2 separate regions of the Homo sapiens genome follow, and region 2 is linked to region 1. Evidence: promoter capture Hi-C in 16 types of primary human blood cells and fetal thymus (Javierre and others, 2016). All regions are on one chromosome and are shown on one strand. Each heading gives the region's core, a stretch centred on a gene start or on the middle of the fragment in contact. The rest is flanking DNA. Distances are from core to core; before and after follow the strand shown. Region 1 holds the start of NR2C1 (nuclear receptor subfamily 2 group C member 1). Region 2 holds the start of MRPL42 (mitochondrial ribosomal protein L42).

Region 1 (3,536 bases), core at 300-2,799:
AAATACACATCGCTTTTTCAGATATACTAACTGGACTTAAAGCAAAGTTTAAAAACAATCATCGGCCGGGCGCGGTGGCTCACGCCTGTAATCCCAGTACTTTGGGAGGCCGAGGCGGGTGGATCAGAGGCGGGTACATCACGAGGTCAGAGTATCAAGACCATCCTGGCCAACATAGTGAAACCCCACCTCTACTAAAAATACAAAAAACAAAAACAAAAACAAAAACAAAAAAACTAGCTGGGTGTGGTGGCTCGTGTCTGTAATCCCAGCTACTCGGGAGGCTGAGACAGGAGAATCGCTTGAACCTGGAGGCGGAGGTTGCAGTGAGCCGAGATCGCGCCACCGCACTCCAGCTTGGCGACAGTGAGACTCCCTCTCCCTCTCAAAAAAAAAAAAAAAAAAAGAAAAAAAAATCGAGTATCACCAACCACACAGCAGAAATGGTTCAAAAAAGCTCAAAATCGAAGGTCCATTTACAAATTCTAGCGGTACTAAACCCTAAAGGCCGTAATTTTAGGTCTTTCTGCTTTTGCTTTCCGGTTACTTTTTTAAAGGCTGACCTACTTACTGAAGATTATGGGACAACCTGGCAACATTCGTACTGCACAAAAATGGTATCTGCCCGAGTTGGAAGAATTATTTCTTAACAAAAGAGCTATCTATCGGAAGCTTGGACATGCCCCCTGCAGTGAGAACCCTGGGGCCGTTCCATTTCTTCTGAAAAGATCCAGGCCCACAGGCAGCGACGACCCTGGCCAGATTTGCCGTGAGAGAAAAGTGAAAGTGGGGGGAGTCATTCTGTCCGTCCCGTGAAAGCACGGGAGTTAGTGACGGGATGCAGGCCGGGACTTGCGGCCACTAGCCGAGGGTCGGCCTCTCCCACGTCTCACTCGTGCCGGCGTTAGCCGTGCGCCCTGGAAGCCCCGGCGCTGCGCGCGGCTCTCCCGGGCGGGGAAAGCTGCAGCGCCGCGGAAGCTTTCCCTGCAGGTTAAAGGTCAGAGGCGCTGCGGTAAGCGCAGCTGGAAAGGGGGTTGTGTGCTCCAAGCCGCTCGCCGTCCGGCCCCGCGTCCCGCCGCCCCTGTCGCCCCCGCCTCTCCCGGGGCCCCGCGCATTTGGCGCCGCAGCTCCGCGCTCCCAGCCGAAGTCGAGCAGCCCCAAGCGGCGCTCCCAAACTGAACGGCTCCGCTGGCCGCAGGACGCCGGCCGGGGGATGCGCTGGGACCGCGTCCGTTGGCGGTTGGGGTGAAGGGCACCCCCTGGCCCCCGCCCCCGACGCGGTCGCTGGTGTCCCCACCCAGCGTTTCTTACCGGCGCTTTTGCGCCCTGCTGACTCCGGCGTCGGGCGCCGACGCGACAGTCCCGCGGCTGCCACTCGTGGATTGGGGGGCGCTCCGGGAAGAGAGGTTGAAGAAAGCCGACGGGATGTGGGATCGAGATTCACGGCGGAGAGAGCTTTCTGTGTTTGGGTATTTCTGGGGGGTCAGAGTTCGTGACCTCTTTCTCGGCTCGGCGGCGCGCTATCCCGCCAGCGCCTGCGCATTAGCAACGGGGAGAAGCGGCGAGAGGAGGTCGTGACGTTCCCAGGGTGGGGTGGAGGGATCGGAGGGCCGAGCAGCGGCTCTGTGAGTCCACTGCCCCCTTTTGGCTTGGAGGCAGAGTGCCCCGCCAGAGCTACGCGTTCCCAGCCAGGTAATTTTTGAAGCCACGTGCAAAGGTTTAAGCATCGTTTGCCAAAGGTGGGCATTAGGGGAGGTTTTGAGTCAACGTTTTAGATTTGAGTAATAAATAACCCTCTGGGTCTTAGGCATATCTGTTTCTAATTTCTGGAAAACTGGGCTCTGGGGTAGAGTCCAATCATATTTAAACTTTTTTTTTTTTGTATTACACTTTAAGTTCTAGAGTACATGTACACAACGTGCAGGTTCGTTACATATGTATACATGTGCCATGTTGGTGTGCTGCACCCATTAACTCGTCATTTACATTAGTAAGCTTTATATATAATGACAAGCTGAGGCCGACTCATGCAAATGGTAAGGCAAAGTTTCACTTATAAACTGTTGTGAGTAAAGAGACATAATGGCTAAACAGGGCAAGAATATAATCACTAGAGACTGGGCACGGTAGCTCACGCCTGTAATCCCAGCAAGTTGGGAGGCCGAGGCGGACGGATCACTTGAGCCCGGTTGTTTGAGGCCAGCCTGGCCAACATGGCGAAAACCCGTCTCTACAAAAAAATTAGCCAGTCCTGGTGGCGCGTGCCTGTCGTCCCAATTACTTGGAGGCTGAGGTGGGAGGATCACCTGAGTCAAGACGGCAGTGAGCCAAGATCACACCACCGCACTCCAGCCTGGGTGACACAATGAGTCTTTCTCTCTCTCTCTATATATACACACACACATATATATGTATATTCCACATCCTCTCTATAATATATATATTATTATATATTGAGGATTATCCTCAATGGCCGTTTTTTGTCTGTTTTGCTCAGTGATGTATTACCAAGCACATAGGACAATGCCTGCTATTCAATAATGATGTATGAAATGAAAGCCAGGCAAGTGGCTGCTGGGAGGCCAAGGAAAGATCACTTGGGGCCAGCAGTTGGAGACCGGCTTGGGCAAGATAACAAAACCCTGCCTCCACAAAAAAAATTTTTCAAATTGTGAAATGAAGAGACATTGGTGGAACATCGCATTCTGACAGTGGCCACCTGTAGTGGCAAGGTGTGGCAGGAATAACTGCCCTGTGTGCAAAGTACTCTGCGCTTTAGATTTTGAAGCATTCTTGAAATTTCTAGTTTTTTTTTAAATCTCCTTTGTTTTGTCATGAAATTTCTATTTTATCTAGCTTAGGTCGGCACTGTAGGAAAGCAGCCACAAACTCAGGGCAGAAATCCAAGGAAGGAAAAACAAACGTTTGCTGGGAATGAGAACATCTCTGTTATTTCTCTCTGGAACTAGGCAGACGGACAGAGATCAAGGCATGAAACAATCCCTAACAAGTAAAAATATGCTTTATCCCTCATTAAAAATCCACCTCTGCTGAGCACAGTGGCTTCTGCCCCCAGAGCCTTGGGAGGCTGAGGTAGGAGGCTTGCTTGATGCCAGGAGTTTGAGACCAGCCTGGGCAACATAGTGAGACTCCATCTCTTAAAAAAAAAAGAAAAAAAAAAGGCATGGTGGTGCAGGCCTGTATTCCTAGTTACTGAGGAGGCTGAGGTGGGAGGATTGCTTAAGCCCAGGAGTCTGGTCCAGTGTTGGCACCATTGCATTCCAGCCTGGGCGAGAGTGAAACTTTTTTTTTTTTCCAACCTCTACCTTTTAGCATTATTTGTTGTGTATTTGGTTTGGTTTTAAGGGAGACCCCTGCCAATACCATAAGCTGGTCCCAAAGGTGAAAATTATGAAAGTATAGTCACGTCAGGGATATGTTCTGAGAAATGAGTCCTTAGGCAATTTCATTTTACTCTCATCATAGAGCGTACTTATACAAACCTAGATGGTCTAGCCTAGACACACCTAGGCTGT
Region 2 (3,536 bases), core at 511-3,010, 1.6 Mb before region 1:
GCAAAGATTAGCCTCCTGATATTCCGTGGGAAATGAGGAGACACACTACACAGCCCGTATTTAGTTTTCTTTACTATGTGATGTGTGTTCACTTACTTTCAATACTAGTCACTTCAGGAATATGGTTCTTAACTTGTTGAGGGGTTTATCAATTCCCTGGAATACATAATAAAAGCTATAGATTATTTCTTAGAAAAATATACAAAAGCAAAATTTTGCAAATCATGGGAGAAGGGAATTTCCAGGCGACCGCTTCTGCTTTACCAGCCAATCATCTACTGTCTTGGATACTTGCAGCGTTATCTAGTCTTTTCATTCATTCAGCAAACACTTCCTGGAGACCTATAATGAGACCAAGCACAGTCTGAGATGCTGGGTTTGCATACAGTGAAGAACAAGATAGACATATGTCTCTGTCTTCAAGGAGCTTACATTATCCAGCATAAGAGACATTAAACGAGGTTGGGTGTGGTGGCTCACGCCTGTAATCCAGCCCTTTGAGAGGCCGAGGTGGGCATATCACCTGAGGTAAGGAGTTCGAGATCAGCCGGGCAAACATGGCGAAACCCCATCTCTACTAAAAATACAGAAATTAGCTGGGCGTGGTGGTGGCCACCTGTAATCCCAGCTAATTAGGAAGCTGAGGCAGGAGAATCGCTTGAAGCTGAGAGGCGGAGGTTGCAGTGAGCTGAGATCATGCCACTGCACTCCGGCCTGGGCGATAGAGCAAGACTCCGTCTCAAAAAAAAAAAAAAAAAGAAAGAGACATTCAACGAGCAAACAAATAATCAATATAAAGTCAGGTAATGGTAAATATTCTGAAGGAAAATAAAGCGGGGCATGGAATAAGGGTGGGTGAGGCTATTTTAATGGTGTGGTCCTTTCTAAGATGATATTTGAGAAAGACCTGTAAGGTCATGAGAAGAGGTCAGAGAAGCACATTGCTGGCAATGGGAACAGAGAGTGCAAAGGCCCAGAGGTCTTTCCTTCCTCCTAAGATGGAAAGCGAGGTCCAAGATTCTGCATATTTACTTCCTCCCATAATAGGTAGCCAGCACAGTTCTGAGGGCACAGTGCCAGGTTTTCAGAGTGGAGGTTCTCTTCAGGTTCTGATTTCAAACGTCCAAATCCTAGCCTCCACATTTCAGGGCTTCTCTGGAATGTCTCTTCCCCTGGGAAACTTTAACTCATCTACTAAAGAGCAATCTACGATTTCTCTGAATATTAACATAATTTTTTTAAAAAGTACTTATAGGTTTGCATGGTGGCTCATGCCTGTAATTCCAGCACTTTGGGACGCCGAGGCAGGAGGATTGCTTGAGACAAGCCTGGGCAACATACCGAGACCTCGTCTCTACAAAAATATTAAAAAATTAGCTGGGTGTGGTGGTGTGCGCCTGTAGTACCAGCTACTCAGGAGGCTGAGGTGGGAGGCTCTCTTGGGCCCAGGAGGTAGAGGCTGCAGTGAGCCGTGAGGGAGCCATTGCACTCCAGTCTGGGTGACAGAATGAGACTGCCTCACAAAAAAAAAAAAAAAAAAAAGCTTGTTACTTTCTAAGGGTATGTGTTTGGGGCAGTGATTTTGTTTTTCTGGGCACCTTAGTAACACTGCGGCCACGCTTCCCCAACTAAAGGTAAAAGTCCATAGCAACAATCCTCCCTTTCTCTCTGCACCCGGGCCGCTTTCCCGCGGAGACTACATTTCCCAGAATGCCCCGCGGGCTGGGACGGCGCGCGCAGCGCTGTTTCGTGGGACCAGGATTGAAACAAGATGGCGGGTTCGTGGTGAGAAGCCGTCAAGGTAACCGCTTCCCTCTACTCCTCCTGTCGAGGACTTCCTCGAAACTGGGCAGTCCCACAGTGTTGGTCGGCAGTTGTAGAGGTCTCCCGCCTGTCGTTCCCGGCAGGGCGAGGTTGCCTGCATCCCCAGCCTTTGTCCTTCCTGCAGAAGAGCCGGCATGTGGCTGCGCGTTTCTTATAGCGCCCCCTTTGTTCCCTGGCGGACGCCCGTGGGGAGGTGATGCAGCTTGTGGCTCTAGGGACTCCTTTAGGTCGAAGAGTTCTGGTGCTCTTGGTAGCCTGTTCCTCAAACCTCTGACCCTCAGAGGCTCTGTAGCTTTTGTTTTGGGGTTGAATTCCGGGCTGAGGGACTTGATCTCTGAAATGATCTTCCTGGGGTGAATAATCTGACTCCCAGCAGGGCGTGCTTTTCTCTGGGCTTCGGACAGAGGGGACCTAATTTCCCCCAAGATGTTTTATTCGTGGTCAGAAGTCATGGGTTTACGTCCCACGCATGTATTAAGCAGCGATATACTGAGCAAGTAATCGATTGACCTCTCTGAGCCTTTGTTCTTAATCTGAAATGGAGATGCTGCTTCACACACTTGTGAAAGTCAGAGCACATATTGTATATGAAAGTGGGTTGTAAACTAAAAAGCACACCTATGAGCTCAGGGTTAACGGTGTTAATGTACTGGCAGTGCAAGGTATCAGTGTGAGTGGTTTAGACTAGCAAATAAGAGGGCCTGTGTCCTAATTCTCTTTTATCACTATTGGGGGGAAGGGCACGGATACTCATTGAAGACTATTAAAAACAAGATTTAACAATGGTTATTTGTCATTTATTCACAACAGGCCATGAAGATTGTGGTTTTCCCCATTTTGTCATTGGAGAAACTGAGGATCGTTTAGTTAATGACTTGTTTAAAGTTTCCCAATTTGGCAGTGACTGACTCTAAAGTCCTTGGAAGCAAGACGTTTAAATTTTGTACTTTAGTTTCTTCATGAATCAGAATAAAGATACCTCACATGATTAATACGAGAGCAAAATGAAATGGTGGTGAAAGTACGTTGGAAAGTTAAAGACTTTGTACACATATAAGATGGTGAAATTTTATCTGGGACTTGAGGGCATTTATGAGTTCCTCCAATTGAGTAATAGGCTAAGGATAGGCCTTGTTTGATATTTCTTTATTATTATTATTATTATTAATGGCTCAGGGCAGACAACTATTTCATTTAATCAGAAACAGGATAGTACTGTAAATGATGTAGTATCTTGTGTATGGAACCTTGGAGGGTGTACACAGCCACACTAGCATTAAAAGAATGAATACTCTGTGTACCATTTGTGAGTGACTGTTTCAAGAGTAATTACACATTTACTGAGTATTCATTAAGTGGAAGGAGCTGCACTGGGTCCTGCAGAGAAGTTTGTATCTAAGATAAATAGTAATGGACATAGTTCCAGTGGTTCTGATCTTATATTCTGTCCATGTCGCTCTTCGTCCTGTTGTTCAATCATGTGGAATTGCCAAGTTGTTTAAAAGCATTGCTTCAGTTGACTTCTAGGCAGTGATTCTTACCTTGTTCTTGTGGTGTTTAATATAACTTAAATTTACCATAGGTAGCACTGATTTTTCTTTATCTCTTCAGCAGGAGTAGAAATTGGTATGCTTAGAAGCAGATTCTAAAAGCAGTTTCTCTTCAGAACATCTTTTTTCATACCACTTGATAAGCATCTTGAAACACCATGG

What was found. The method cuts DNA at HindIII sites, captures the fragments that hold promoters and counts their contacts. A CHiCAGO score of 5 or more calls a contact.
Region 2: a contact is called between the fragment with the promoter of MRPL42 here and the fragment with the promoter of NR2C1 in region 1, in 1 of 17 cell types (total CD8 T cells). The highest score is 5.1, in total CD8 T cells.

The regions. Positions count from the first base shown.
Region 1 is chr12:95,072,069-95,075,604 of GRCh38, forward strand. NR2C1 (nuclear receptor subfamily 2 group C member 1) reads right to left here and starts at 1,550. Exons shown (of 14, transcript NM_003297.4): 1 at 1,312-1,550. RefSeq lists a silencer at 968-1,247 and enhancers at 1,137-1,637, 1,328-1,647. The HindIII fragment of the contact is 1,017 bases long and covers 977-1,993 here.
Region 2 is chr12:93,465,754-93,469,289 of GRCh38, forward strand. It overlaps MRPL42 (mitochondrial ribosomal protein L42), which reads left to right and starts at 1,761. Exons shown (of 6, transcript NM_014050.4): 1 at 1,761-1,801; 2 at 3,439-3,536. The coding sequence starts at 3,533. RefSeq lists enhancers at 1,593-1,652, 1,713-1,982. The HindIII fragment of the contact is 2,939 bases long and covers 1,542-3,536 here.